Linked DNA regions of Homo sapiens: all the other regions are linked to region 1. The links are contacts of gene promoters, found by promoter capture Hi-C in blood cells and fetal thymus (Javierre and others, 2016). All regions are on one chromosome and are shown on one strand. The core of a region is centred on a gene start or on the middle of the fragment in contact, and the rest is flanking DNA. Distances in the headings are between cores, read along the strand shown.

Evidence for each region. Contacts are between HindIII fragments. The CHiCAGO score rates a contact against its expected background, and 5 or more counts as called.
Region 2: a fragment that was not itself captured here is called in contact with the fragment with the promoter of UCHL1 in region 1 in 2 of 17 cell types (M0 macrophages and M1 macrophages); the score reaches 7.3 in M0 macrophages.
Region 3: a contact is called between a fragment that was not itself captured here and the fragment with the promoter of UCHL1 in region 1, in 3 of 17 cell types (M0 macrophages, M2 macrophages and M1 macrophages). The highest score is 6.5, in M0 macrophages.
Region 4: a fragment that was not itself captured here is called in contact with the fragment with the promoter of UCHL1 in region 1 in 1 of 17 cell types (M2 macrophages); the score reaches 5.1 in M2 macrophages.
Region 5: a contact is called between a fragment that was not itself captured here and the fragment with the promoter of UCHL1 in region 1, in 1 of 17 cell types (M0 macrophages). The highest score is 6.0, in M0 macrophages.

What each region holds. Positions count from the first base shown.
Region 1 is chr4:41,255,523-41,258,424 of GRCh38, reverse strand. UCHL1 (ubiquitin C-terminal hydrolase L1) reads right to left here and starts at 1,497. Exons shown (of 9, transcript NM_004181.5): 1 at 1,416-1,497; 2 at 1,299-1,310; 3 at 688-816. The coding sequence starts at 1,448. UCHL1-DT (UCHL1 divergent transcript) reads left to right here and starts at 1,698. Exons shown (of 3, transcript NR_102709.1): 1 at 1,698-1,866. RefSeq lists an enhancer at 287-787 and a silencer at 622-1,381. The HindIII fragment of the contact is 2,127 bases long and covers 118-2,244 here.
Region 2 is chr4:40,939,840-40,942,741 of GRCh38, reverse strand. All of the region lies in intron 7 of APBB2 (amyloid beta precursor protein binding family B member 2), which reads left to right. Among named protein-coding and RNA genes, the nearest start is that of NSUN7, 190 kb to the right of the region's middle. The HindIII fragment of the contact is 287 bases long and covers 1,244-1,530 here.
Region 3 is chr4:40,957,861-40,960,762 of GRCh38, reverse strand. All of the region lies in intron 6 of APBB2 (amyloid beta precursor protein binding family B member 2), which reads left to right. Among named protein-coding and RNA genes, the nearest start is that of NSUN7, 210 kb to the right of the region's middle. The HindIII fragment of the contact is 1,732 bases long and covers 654-2,385 here.
Region 4 is chr4:40,974,048-40,976,949 of GRCh38, reverse strand. The region is part of intron 6 of APBB2 (amyloid beta precursor protein binding family B member 2); the gene reads left to right. Among named protein-coding and RNA genes, the nearest start is that of NSUN7, 230 kb to the right of the region's middle. The HindIII fragment of the contact is 5,502 bases long and covers 1-2,902 here.
Region 5 is chr4:40,995,251-40,998,152 of GRCh38, reverse strand. All of the region lies in intron 6 of APBB2 (amyloid beta precursor protein binding family B member 2), which reads left to right. Among named protein-coding and RNA genes, the nearest start is that of APBB2, 220 kb to the left of the region's middle. The HindIII fragment of the contact is 2,969 bases long and covers 29-2,902 here.

The sequences.
Region 1 (2,902 bases), core at 248-2,747:
TTTCAAAACTGAGCTAATAACCCCCTATTTCAGTTAGCTACAAGGTCAGAGATGAACAAGGATAAGTGAAGAGGAAGGAGGTTCCCACACAGAAACCATACACAAAATGATTAAGCTTTAAGAAATACATTCAAGAGGCTAAAAACCAAGTGTGCAAGTGGTGGGAGTGGAGAAGAGAGAAGAACCCCTTAAGACCATCAGAAACCCAAGTAATGGAGGCGGAGAATTAGCGAACCTAATTGTTTCCCTGCGATTTAGGTCAGCCCTTCCCCCTCCATTCTACAGCTAGGTGGGAGTCTGAGAAGCAAACAATGAGTTGACAGGTTATAGCCCTTAAAGGGAAACCAGCAGCCATTCCCCGGAACCGGAGGCTCGAAAAAGCCCAAGTTCGAGGGAACTCATGAGTAGGATGAATGATTTCCCTGGATAACGGGATAGATGGAACTGAGATACTGCCTCTCTTCCAAATTTAAGGCAATTGTGGACGGATGGGCAAGAAGGCGACAGGCACCGCTGGAACAGGAGCCCAGGGAGTAGGTACCACGAAAATGCAGGCTCCTCCCTTCCTTGTAGGCGCGCCCCGCATCACCTACAGGGGAGGGGGCGGGGCGGGGAGCCCCCGAGGACTCAAGCTGGGGAGCGGCGTGCACTGCCGGCGGCCGGCGCATCCTGGGCCCCACGCCCTACCTGGGCCGTGAGGGGAAACAGCAGCAGCAGCGCGCAGGCAGGCGCTGGCACCGAGCCCAGAGACTCCTCTTCCAGCCCCAGCACGTCCACGAAGCGCCACTGGCCGGCGACCCCCAGCCGGGACAGCACCTGCGGAGAGGAGACAAGGCGGCCAGGCGCACGGGGACACGCGGGTCGCGGGCACCTGCCAGGGGGCGGGGCCAGGAGGCGCGCGCCCTCCGCGCCCGCACCCGAGCCTGGGAGGAGCCCCAGTCCCGCCCTGCCACCCCCACCCGGGCCGGCGCAATGACACAGCACAAAGCGCGGCCCACACGTGGCGCCCGCGAAGCCCGTGCAGCCGAGTCTGTGCTGCCCGCGCCACGCCCTCGGGAGCTCCGCCTGGCGCTCGCTCGCCACGGGGCGCAGCCCCCTCCGTCTCCCCGTGACCGGTTTCGTAGAGTCACCCGCTAAATGCAGGGGCCCAGGAAAGGCGCCCAGCCCACGCCCCAGCCCGGCCGTCTCCGGTGCTCGCAGCGGGCGGCTTGGTCCCTGCCAGCAGCCGGAACCGGTGGGCGCCCCCGCCTCGGCGCTCGCGGGGGAGGGGGCCAGAGACGGCGCGAGACGCCACTCACTTTGTTCAGCATCTGAAAGGCAAATGCAAAGAAAAAGGCAAAACCGAACCGATCAGCGACTCGGCTCCCCCTCCCTCGGCCTCGCGCTCTCCGGGTAGCGGTGCACCTGGCGCTCACCTCGGGGTTGATCTCCATCGGCTTGAGCTGCATCTTCGCGGAGCGCCCGGCAGAAATAGCCTAGGGAAGACGAAAAACAGCTAGCGGAGCCGCCCAGGCTGCAGCTATAAAGCGCCGGCCAGACGCACTGTGAGGCCTGTGCAGGGGGAGCAGGGGCAGAACCAAGCGAGGGGGAAACGGACGGTCGCGGCCAGATGGGTACGAACCCCCCGTGCGCAGCGCGGAGTGGTACGGCCGGGCCCCCAAACCTTGCAGTCTCACTCGCCGGTGAGATAATCTGGTGGTTGTGGAGACGGGATTTGTTGGTGGGTGTTCCTTGAGTGTATGGAGCAGTCCTTTTGATGGAGTCTTTAATTTTGGGCGAAGTTTCTGGAAACCCATCCTTTCACCATCCCAATTACTCTAAAGCTCGAGTCTCTGAAGCATTTGAGAAAAAGCACAAATTCAACAGGTATATATTTAATACGAATGAATGTAAATGTGTGCCCCCCGCCCCAAATCTCTCAGCAGTTTGCGTTTAACCTTAGACAATTCCTCCTCCATGTTAAGTCAGACCAGTACCGAGGTTCGTTTTTAAGTGACTACCTAGAATAAAACAGAATCTGGTAGATAACAGATACTGCATTAGGAATGCTGATGTAATGTGACTCCCGCGGAAGAAATGGTTGGTCCTGGGAGAGCAGTAGAAAGCTGGGGGATGTGAGGGTAATACAAGACACAAAGAAGGCAGGCGATTGGAGACTTGAGAAAACAGATCCAGGGAAAAGATGGGTATGATTTTGAGCGAGAGGCTGTAAAAGGAAAAGCATTTTTAAAAGAATGGGAAGCTTTGAAAAATAAAATGTCTGAGTTCACCGCAGAATACTCCCAATGAAGAAGAAAGGGAATGGCAACCAAGGAAACCACTGTTCTCTAATGATCTCAGGTGATCTCTAATGATCTCTAGTCAAAAGATGGAGAGAGAAAGCATTTGCTGAAGAATGAATTTTAAAAGGGACCAAAATCTATAAGAATTGTGCCAGGAAAGCTAAGCTGCAGAACAAAGTGGGCTTGCAGAAATACTTAGGTAGCGAAGGAAGCAAGAAGGTTGAGTATTTTTTAAAAATAGGCACCGAAGAGAATAATGATGATGGTAAAAGAATAGACCTTCTATTTAGGAAGTTGAGGTTAACAGATGACAGAGGGAAGGGAGGGAATCAACATTTTTTGAGTTATTGTTTTTGGGGATCCTTTGCATGTGTCTCTCATTTAATCCTTAGAGGAGCCGTGAAGAGACTCATATTAGTGCAATTTTACAGATCAGAATCCCAGGCCTAGAGAAGTTAATTTGCTTACGGTCACAATTGAAAAGTAAAACTGAGAAGTAAACCCTGCTAAACTGGGCTCCAAGAGCCCATTCTTTATCTAAGATTCCACAACATTCTACTTCTATTTTCTTTCCATTTTTGCCATTAGAAAATGACCTTCACACACAAAAATGAGAGAGA
Region 2 (2,902 bases), core at 138-2,637, 320 kb after region 1:
TCGTACCCCTTGCTAACTACTGCCCAGGGCCCCTCCCAGGCTCAGAAGGGCACACCCTTGGCACCTCCTGCCCTGGAGTTCAGTGTTCCCCCCCAACAGCCCCGCTGCTCGGCCTCCTCACTGCTCTTAAAAATCTGTTGTGGTTTTCAGGGTATTTTCCTAGACATCATTTCATCTGATCTTCTCAGGAGTCTCCTGAGGCAGAAAAGTCAGCTGGTATGTTCTCCATTTAAGGAAAGAGGTAACTGAGACTCAATGAGTTAAGTGTCCCTCAGCTGGGGTTAGGGTGGGATGTATCCAGTTCCCTGACTCCAGACCCCAGGACTCTAGAGCCCGAGGACTCTGAGAATCTCCACCTTCTATCAGTTCCATTCCTCTCTTCTGCTGCTCACTGTACCATTTGTATTGACAAAGGCTTATCCCTCCGTGGAAGCTGGTTAAAGGTGCATATTTTTAGAAGTTTCAGAGACAGGGACTCATATCCAGCACTCTCAGAAAGCAACAGGGCAAAAGTCTTCAGGCTGACCTTTCAGTTGTTCCCATAATACACGTGTTTCTCCCCCTACATAAGGTCCTCCGTTAAGTCAAAGAACCAAGCAGATTTAAAAGGAAATAAATAAGTCATAGAGGCAAAGAGTTGAGCAGATAGAAGAGGAATAGGAGAACTGGGGAAAAGACTTAGCCTGCCACATACGCTGATGTGCAGACCCTGTCACCAATATTAAACCAGAGGCACTAAGAGAAATCAAATATTTACAGTCCAGCCTAATGCCTTAACTCTTTACTCCCCATAAAACCCTTATGTGGTCAGGTGCTGCAGCTCACGCCTGTAATCCCAGCTCTTTGGGAGGCCTAGGCAGGAGAATCACTTGAGACCAGGAGTTGAGGAGCAGCCTGGACAACATAGCAAGACCCCATCTCTACAAAAAAAAAAAGATTTTAAATTAGCCAGGTGTGGTGGTATGTGCCTGTAGCCCAAGCTACTTAGGAGGCTGAGGCAGGAAGATCACTTGAACCCAGAAATTTGAGGCTGCAGGTGAGCTATGATCACACCATAGCACTCCAGCCTGGATAACAGGGTAAAACCCTGTCTCTTAAAACAAACAAACAAACAAAAAACACACCAAAATCCTTATGTATCTGGTACTATAGTTGTCTTTCTCATTTTACATTTGACACTGAGAGACAGAGAGGTTGAGGAGTTTGGGCAAGACACACAGCTAATACATGGTAGAGTCAAGCTTGAGTTCAGGTCTCCTGGCCCCTATTTCCACCCCGAACTTCACAATATCATATGTCTGGGAGGCTTGGAGACTCTTGAATCCCTTTAACTCACCCTAAGGGAGGCTATGTCACATATGGAGCCTTCTAGAAAATGACCTTTCTTAATATCATTGTCTCAGGTGCTAATGACAGTTGAAGAGAAATGATTATTTTTCTAACACCATTTCTTTGGTTCCTAAATAGAATCTATTTCAACCAATTTCAAAGCATGAGAAGAGAGCAAAATCTTAAGGGACAGAAGAAGCTTGTAATATGTTGTGTTAGAAATGCATATTTTATTCAGCTTTTTTCTGAGCTGGCTTCAAAAAAAAAAAAAGAATCAAATAACTAAGTGCTAAATCTGTTGACTAGGCTTCACAAAAGTTTAGAACTGAAGGCTTCCTTACAGTTTGAAAATTTTACATTTCACATTCCAAAGTTCACTTGGGAGGTGTTAAGCGCAGTGGATAATGTTTCCGCTGCATATGCCAGCAGTATTTTTGAAAGTTTATAAACTGGCCAGGAAGCATTTGCTGCTGAAATTTAGCACGTGGTGCTCCTCCCCGCCCAAACCATTTATTTGTTCCAAATTACCTTGCAGACTGCTTGGATATTGAATTTTAGAGAGAACGGAGAGCCACACAAAATATTTTTATGAATATCCATTGGCTTGTGGCCAAGTCTTCCCATCTTTTCAAATGAAGGTGTTTTGGTCTTCCTACAGAAGAAAGTATGGAGAAGGCGGGTCTGAAGCTCGAGAAAATGAATTGTTGCTCAAACTGTGGTTTCCTCTTGGTCCTAAATCAGCCTGTTCTTATGAAGTGCTCACAGCCTCACGGGCGTCATGAGAGCCTAACCCCCCCAGGAGGGTGCCCAGTGGAATACCTTAAGCCTGTGTATTCTCATATACATGTAGAAATAAGATGACAACATAAAAGGGCCGTTCTGCCGTCATTTTTCTGAACTTCTTCACTCAGTCAAGTAATCATGACATTGAGTGCTGGAAGGAATCTTGGAGCAGGGCCTGTTGAATGTGCAGGCCGTATTTCTCAGCCAGTGAGCCGAGGAATGGTGCCAGGAGAACCTCTGGGGATCACAGAATGGGATGGGGCCTGGGAACCTTTGCATAAGCTCTCCAAGTGATTTACGCTGAGTAAGTAGGACAGCAGGTCCTCTAATGACTATAGCCTCCCTATTTTTATTTGCATGTCCCTTCCTCAAAAATTATTTGGCCTCACCCCATTGTCTCCCCAGAGCTACTGCTCTTACCCCATTGCTTTGAAAGCCCTGTATTCTATCATGTCCCATTGTAGTGTTGTTACCTGTGGTATGTCACTTTCCCACTAGGAAGCTCCTTGGTGGCCGGGACCTGTTCTCCTCATCCTGTGCACAGGGCCCAGTACATGACGACATTCATTAACTATTTGCTGAATGAAAAAATAAATCAGCTGCATAGCCAAGGAAGCTGTTAGTTGATCTGTTGCAATGACAAAGCCAGCCCTAGAGCCCTCATTCTCCTGGCCCCCTCTACATTGTAGTTTCTGCATTGCACTGCTGCTCACAGAGACTGATTTAATTGCACAAACCAGTTTACTAGTTTGATTTTTTTTTAACTTCTCTGAATTATGTTTGTGTGATT
Region 3 (2,902 bases), core at 270-2,769, 300 kb after region 1:
AAAACAGAAAAAAAGTGGCGGGGCACGGTGGCTCACACCTGTAATCCCAGCACTCTGGGAGGCCAAGGTGTGCGGATCACAAGGTCAGGAGATCAAGACCATCCTAGCTAACTCGGTGAAACCCCGTCTCTACTAAAAATATAAAAAATTAGCCGGGCATGGTGGCGGGTGCCTGTAGTCCCAGCTACTCAGGAGGCTGAGGCAGGAGAATGGCGTGAACTCGGGAGGCAGAGCTTGCAGTGAGCCGAGATCACACCACTGCACTCCAGCCTGGGCGACAGAGCGAGACCCCGTCTCAAAAAAAAAAAAAAAAAACCCGAAAAAAAATTTCTGTTTTTGATGAACTTCTTTTATTATATAACTTTGTAAATTTTTTGACCAGTAATTTAAATATCTTAACCCCATGGGTCTATTCTCTTGTGTTATTTATTGACTGAAATATATTTATATGTTTTATATAGCCTGCCTCAAATTCTTTTTTTAATGTAGGTAGAGGTACTCCTCTTATTACTGAGAGGAGTAATAAGAAAGAAGCTTTTACTCTGATCCCTTTAAGTATGTTTTCACAACATAATCTCAGAAAAACGTTTTTCTCTGTACTCCTCCTCCCCATCCATAGTCTAAAATCCTTTTTTACATCAAATATTAAAGCTTGTCCATTAACCACTCTGACAGGCTGAACAATTTACCTCCGTTCTACTGATTTTTTTAAGGGCACTTAACCTTTAAAATACACTTAACGAATAGGATGGCTCCCAAATAAAAATACACCAAGATTTTTCTGCAGCCAAATGATAAGCATTTTCCTAACCTCGATCAAGTTATTTAACATTGCTGAAATCTGTTTCTTTAGTAAAATGGGAATAATATCTGCTCTGCATCTGTGGCAAGATTTTGTGGGATCAAGTGAGATTGGATTAATTATAGCTCTTTGGAAGTCCTGTAGTGCTCTGGAAGTGCATGCTATAGTTCTTATATCAGAAATAAAATGTATATGGTTTATGCATATGTATAATATAATATTCATTCTAATCTATGAGAGTGTAGTATAATAATGTTCCCACACACAGATTTGGATTTTACAAAACATGACGCCCACTTCAGCTTGTAATTGTAATATGCTGATAAAAGGCCAAATTGTCATTGAATACTGTGTCAATTGCCCAAATTCTCCATAATGATCTTTTGTTGAAGTATCTAACTTAAGTGGGAAATCAAGTCCTGGCATGCCACCATTTAGAAGAATAATGACGTTGGAGTTGATCAAGGCCACTTCTAAATAGCTTCCATTTTGTGATCGTTGCTGTTGTATACTAGCCAGAGGACTGCAGCTCTGAGAGAAAAGCATATTGAAGATCCTGCCAAAATAACAGAAAAGAAAATTGTCTCCATTTAATATATTTTCAAACCTGCCTACCTTGAAAGAGTGTGATGCCACTAGTAATTCTATTCTGTTTAATTGTATGGAAGCCAAAGAAAGATTCATGCCCCTGGTTGTATTTTGTCTTCTCTTCTCCTGCTGCTCACTCTGAAATAAGAATAAAATTAAGTTGAAAGATTAGGTTGACAGAGGATGTGGCAGCGGGGCACATTCTCTGAATGATGTTGTGCAGTTACACTTAGCTTAATGTCCATATAATCATAGATCTTTCTGGAATACTGTGGTTAGGACGAGTGACTAGGTAGTCTTCCTGCCAAACCTAAATAAATCCTGCCTGGTATTGAACAGGTTGTATTGCTGTCACTCATTAGGTGGGTGGGATAGGCAGACAGCTGGAGGAGAAAGTAATAAAGCCTGCCTAGCTATTTTATCTAAATATGATGTGATCTCTACTTTTTAAAATTATAAAAAATTAAGGCTGAGTGCAGCGGCTCACGCCTGTAATCCCAACACTTTGGAAGGCCGAGGCGGGAGGATCACTTGAGGTCAGGAGTTCAAGACCAGCCTGGCCAGCATAATGAGACCCCATCTCTACAAAAAATTTAAAAATCAGCTGGGCATGGTGGCGGGCAACTGTAGTCCCAGCTACTCAGGGGGTTGAGACAGGAGAATCGCTTGAGCCCAGGAGGTCAAGGCTGCAGTGAGTTGTGATCATGCCACTGCACTCCAGCCTGGGTGACAAAGCAAGGCCCTGTCTCAAAAAAGGAAGAAAGGGAGAGAGATAGAAGATTATCAAAAATTGCTGATTTCAAGACCATTCTCACCTACACCCATTCTCCTTTCATTATTATGCTTAGGCTTTTGGATTTTTAAGGGTTGTGATCTCAATGCAGTTTTTTTCCCAGTACTTCTCAAGAAAACAAAATTGAGATTACCATAATTGTCTCTAGTTTTCTTAAAGTAAAATACAAATCTTCACTCAGATTTTAAGTTTTTATTAAGCTTTTTTGGAAGGAGCACCCTTAAGCCTGAGGTTCTCAGTAGTGCTATGTTGTATACTATGTGCACACTCTAAAAGGAAATAGTGTTCTTAGGTTATACTTCATCTCAAGACTTTAATATCACTAGTTAGAAAATACGTGTTTTATTCTGTGTGGAGGTATTTAGAATTAGACATTCCAGTGATAAAATATTAAAATATTTTACTACATCTAAAATATTCTATAACCAGGTCATATGATTAACCTTAATTATATATAAGTTTATGGATGGATGGACCGATGGATGGTTGAATATTTACAAATACAGAGTTTCCTTCTAGGTAATTTTTAGCTGCTTACATTTCATGCCTTTTAGTTTTAAGTTTGTATGCAGAGTCCTCCTGACTATGTTGTGTTTGGTTTTGGTTAATAGTCTATGAACGGAGATGTATACTTTTATCTTCTACCAACCTCTGATCATATCCTATCTGCATACTTTTATGAGAATATGAGGTGGAGGCCGGGTGTGGTGGCTCATGCC
Region 4 (2,902 bases), core at 274-2,773, 280 kb after region 1:
AGCCTCCCAAGTATCTGAGACCACTGCCATGAGCCATCATGCTCAGCTAATTTTTTTTATTTTTTATAGGATGGGGTCTCACTATGTTGCCCATGTTGCTCAGGCTGATCTCAAACTCCTAGGCTCAAGCTAATCCTCCTGCCTTGGCCTCCCAAAGTGCTGGAATTACAGGCATGAGCCACCTTGCCCCATCTGAATAAATAGGAAATTAATGTTCACTTCCAGCCCTAGACTGGAAGCTCCTGAGCCCCAGTGCTGTGTCTGTTTAGGATCTATTGCTTAACAGATTGATGACCCTCACATAGGAAGTTCAGTACACATTAGTGGTCAGAGGCTCCATGATCACAGCTGTTAAGTGTTTTTAACTGCTGTTTAATCTCTAGGCACTTTACTAATTTTTAAAAGTTGGAAATTCCTATGGTAATATGATTCCCAAAGAAAGGTCTCCAGTCCCTTAACTAAAAGATTTAGAATACCTTAGCTAACCTTAGAGTTAAAGCAAAATGTCTGCCCCCTGGTGTCAGATCAACAACTAGCATCTTAGCTAATTCTCATAGTGAGTTCCATTAATTATATGATTTAGTTTTTACAGTAAATTATACATTGCACATAAAATTAAAAATAAGCACCATTTTAAACTTGCCACTCGCTGCTATGAAACTGGGATTTTTGGCTTATATTCAACATTGTTGGTTTTTTTCATGTCTAAATAATAATTTGAAATTAAAGTCTAATTTTAGTAAATTTTCTATATGCTATTAACTCTGTAGCACTGAATTTTATAGAGGAGAGAAATAATGAAGGTTTTATGTGAAACAAAAATAGCCTTAAACATTATTAATATTTTATGAGTTTGTATAAATCTTCATACTGCAGATAGTTTTCCTAATATTTTTGGCCAGAAAGAAGGATAAAAATTCATTTAATAAAAGTCTTTGAATATTTCCATATTTCTATATTGTGTGGGGAAAAAAAGAAAAAAAAAGCATTTGAGTAATGTAAATTTACTGGTTTGGATTAAATGAGAATGAAAGTATTCATGAGAGTCCCTAGAATCAGTTAATCCAAGTCCTGGGTTAAGAAATAAGAAATCAGTAGAGAATTTGTTCTCTGTTTTTGTAGAGAATGAGGTTTATATAGGGGAAAGTAGAGTGGTTGTTGTGTGTGTGTGTGTGTGTGTGTGTGTGTGTGTGTGTTTTCTTACTACATTTAAATTCTTTATTTACCTGAAAGCTGTTTGTGTGCACTGTAGGGAAGGCATCATGACGTGATGGTTCTCTTGCTAGGCCAACTCTAAGATTATATGAGATAAAGCATGTGGAGTATTTCATACAGTGCCTGGGGCAGTAAGGACTCATAAATGTTAGAAGAGGAAGATATTTATTAATAACGTGCAGCATGTACCAGGGATTGTGCTAATGATACGTCCATGAGGTTTATAGCCTCAAGGAGCTGAAATTCTATTGCAGAAGTCAGACAATAATTAAACACAAAATTAGACAAAAATGGTTGTGATTAGTACTCAACATAGAAAAGCACTGTGGTGCAGGGGAGTGAGGGGAGAACTGGATTAGTAATTTGAAGCCAAAAAAAGGGTGAAAGCCTTTTGAGAAACCAAAGATAGATTCCCTGTTGTCCATATACTGGAACACGTTCAATTCACTTATTGAAGACTCTCTGGGCCCTTACTCAAGGCCTGTTTACTCGGATTTATGTACATTTCTAACATGGTTTCATAGTTGACAAGACATTATTTGCAGTGGGTTAGAAGAGAGTGGATGGTGGGAGGACGGATCAGCAGAAAAAATAAGCTGATAGAACCAAGCCCTCTGGTATTAGGGAGTGATAGCCTAGCATTGGGGTGGGGAGGAAGGAGAGGGACCCAGACCAAACCCTAAATGCTGAAAGGACATGTCAGTTAGCAGTGGTAGAGACAAAGGGTTGAAGTGTCTCTTGTTGTAGCAGTTAGCAGTTGTAGCAGAAATTGGAGAATATTCTGCACATTTGGGATAAAAGGGGTATGTAAGTAAAATCATGTTTTGAGCACTTTTTTTAATAAAGCAGAGAAATGATCAATGAGCATCAATGCACATGCCCCTCGGCATTTGTAATGTAAGGTTGCTTTGGCTCCACTAGAAATGTGAGTTCCTTAAAGGCAGCGACTGTATGCCATTCTTACTGTGTATTCTCAGAATTTATGTTAGAATCCAGCCCAAAGTAGTGAGTCGTTCAGTAGATATTCTCTGATCATGTTAGATTAAAGAGGTTTACTTCTCCAGACAGATCTTCATGGAGATATTGGAATTAGATATGCCTGAAATTGGATGTATAGGCAAGCTGTAAGTTCAGCATCCCTTCTTATAATTCTATAACAGAGAAGTGGTTAGGCAACTTCTGTTCTTTTAGTCTCTGTTTACTATAATAAAACTATAAATCTTTCTCCTTTTAAAAAAGTAGCTGTATATGCCATTTATTAACTGGTTTACTGATTTGTTGGTCTGTTTGAGCACACATGTATTGCTCCTTCTGTGTCCTTGGCCCTGGGCTAAAACCTGAGAGTATAGTGTGGTGAAGATTTCTCCCTACCCTCAAACAGTTCTGGTATCTCTGAGTACATTCACTATATTAATAAGTTGAATTGTGTCCGCCCAGAAAGATACATTGAAGAGCTAACCTCTGGTACCTATAAGTCTGACATTATGTAGGAAGAGAGTCATTGCACCTGTAATCAAGTTAAGGTAAGGTCATTAGAGTGGTCCTAATCCAATATTTAGTGGTGTTCTTAGAAGAGGAAATTTGGCTGGGTGCAGTGGCTCATACCTGTAATCCCAGCACTTTTGGAGGCCAAGGTGGGTGGATCACAAGGTCAGGAGTTCGAGACCAGCCTGACCACCGTAATGAA
Region 5 (2,902 bases), core at 264-2,763, 260 kb after region 1:
CCAAAATTCTGATTTTTGCTTAAAAGCTTGCATTTGATCATTGCCAACAAATAGTGTCAGTTGTTTTCCTTGAAGTGACAGGTCCACCTCATTTATTTTTGTGAAAATGTCTACCCAATACCCAAATTTGAATAACCATAGTTTGTCTGTCAGTTGTTCTTTCACGTAAATGAGGTATTGTGTGGAGAAGCAGCTAGTTCAACTTGCAACTCAATCACGTGTACTTTTCCTTGAAATGACAGCCCTACTTCAGTATGCCATGGAAGCACTTTATGTGTACCTTCATTAAAAACATAATACTTTGGGGTTGAGATTTAATAAAATTAATAATTTTTACCGCTTCAAGGACGTTATTACATTGGGGAACACAATAACCACTAATATAGCTTATGCTACTGTCTTGCTTCATGCTGAGATGCCAGCAATGTTATCATTTATTTTTTGTGCCCTATCACTTAAATGTCAACACAGTGAAAAGGGTTGTAAATAACATCTGAGTGTTATGAAAATAGCTTCAATCTCTGAGACTCCTCGAAGTTCCCTTTGGGAACTTCTGCTCTAGGTATGAGGATCAGTGCTCTTAGCAATTTGGTTGGAAAGAAGAGTCTTTGAAGAATGATAACTGTGAGAGAGAAAGTCAAATAGGTAGGTAGAGGCCAGAGAATGTGCTAATGTACTTAACTGACCTTGCTTTTGTTAATGAAACATGAGTGATGCTTATGAGAAAAGGAATGCCCTTTGTAAGGTAGAGTTTAAAGAAAGTATATCTGATATTGGTGGCTAGAATATGTTTGTGGGGTAAAGTGTTAATGTTGCTGAAACACCAGAGGTTTGGTCTAGGACCTGCTGCTTGACGCACAGAAAGCCATTTAATGAGATGAGTATTGCCAAGTAAGAAGGCTTTAATCGGGTGCTGCAGCTGAGGAGATGGGAAATCAGTCTCAAATGCATCTCCCCGACACACTAAACTTAGGGGTTTATATAGTAGGGAAGAAATGTAACCACATGTGGGAAAACAGGAATTAGGGAGGTGTAAGGAAGAGGAGCTGGTCAACAGGAAGCAGGTGGTTGGATAGGCAATCATGATAGGTGAGGGTGAGGGGTCTGGCATCTCATTGTCCATATGCAGCGGTCATGTAAGTTTCAGCTCCTTCATGCTATCTGGGAGGCTTGATGGTTGAGTTCCTGAAAAAGGAACTCAGCTAAGACAAAAGTAACTTTTTCAAGTTTTAAGACTGGGAGGATCAATTTCTATGTTTATTCAAAGAAACCATAAATATCAGCACTGTGGGACAATTGGGTCAGTTTCAAAAGGAGGCAGGTGATTATGAGAGTTTTACAGTAATTTGTTTAGATTATGAGGACTGGACAAGATTAGTAGTTTTAAAAATAGAGTGGAAGTAGAGGAAAGGATGAATCTCTAGAATTTAGTGATTGATTGGATGTGGGTGGAGAGGGAGTGAGTAGAATCAAATATGTCAGATTTTCAAGTTGAAGACTAAGAAAATGTTAGTTTTCAGAAATAGTAGAGATGGGAGGAGGAGCTAATTGTTGGAGAAAGATGATGTGTTTGATTTTAGACATGTCAGTTGAGATGATGTGGGAATAATAGCCAAGGACTGACATCCTCAAGATAGAGTTGTCGTTTTTAGGGAGAAGTCAGAGAGATTCAGACTTTGTCACCTGGACACCAAATTTCTGCACCCTGTCTGGGACTCGTGTATGTCCTTTATTTTAACCAAGATTCAGAGGGGTGATCAGATGAGGATGGGGTGGAAACATGGGTGGCTTAAACAGATTGGGTGTTATTAGAGAACTGCCTTAAAAAACAAAACAAACAAACAAAAACAGTGAAATACTTATAATGGTTTAACCAGTCTTCGTTTTTCCTCATCTTAAATATTAAATTCAACTTAGCCATAGTTCTAGAAAAATGGCTAGATATCTCATTCACCAATGAACTCTCAAATACAGTGATGACACATCCCATTTCTCTCATTTCTAGTTCTCTACAGTAAAGTGAAGGGGCCACTTGTAGAAAGACAAGCATGCTTGAGCACTCACAAACTGATGTTCAGAATCTCTGCCAAGTGAGACACTCAACAGATGTAACCTCAGTGAAATAACTGTGGCCAACAATCTAGCTAAGAGGCTCTAAAACCAGGCATTAAAAGCAGATCCATGGCGGGGCACGGTGGCTCACATCTGTAATCCCAGTATGTTGGGAGGCTTAGGCAGGAGGATCTCTTGAGGCCAGGAGTTCAACACCAGCCTGGGCAACATAGTGAGTCTCTGTTTCTGTTAAAAAAATGTTTAAGGGCTGGCACGGTGGCTCACACCTGTAATCCCCAGTACTTTGGGAGGGTGAGGCAGGAGGATTACTTAAGTCTAGGATTTCAAGACCAGCCTGGGCAACATGGCAAGACCCTGTCTCTGTAAAATTAAAAAATTAGCCAGACATAGTGGCACATGCTGGCGTCAGCTACGTAGGAGGCTGAGGTAGGAGGATTTAACTCAGGAAGTCGAGGCTGTAGTGAGCTGTGTTTGTGCCACTGCACTGCAGCCTGGGCAACAAAGTGAGTCTGTTTCAAAAAAAAAAAAAAATTTTTTTTTTTTAAACATTAGCCAGATATAGTGGCACATACCTGTGGTCCCAGCTACTCAGGATGCTAAGGCCAGAAGATCGCTTGACCCTGGCATTTGAAACTATGATGGTGCCACTACACTCCAGCCTGAGCAACAGAGCAAGACTCTGTCTCAAAAAAAAGATCCATTTCTGACGGATGGACTTATTAATCAACTTCTCGAGAAATACTAAAGCCAAAATAAGAAACACTGGAGCCAAAATAAGAATCTATTAATTTGTTATGAGAATTACCACTCTCCTAGGTGTTAGATTTCT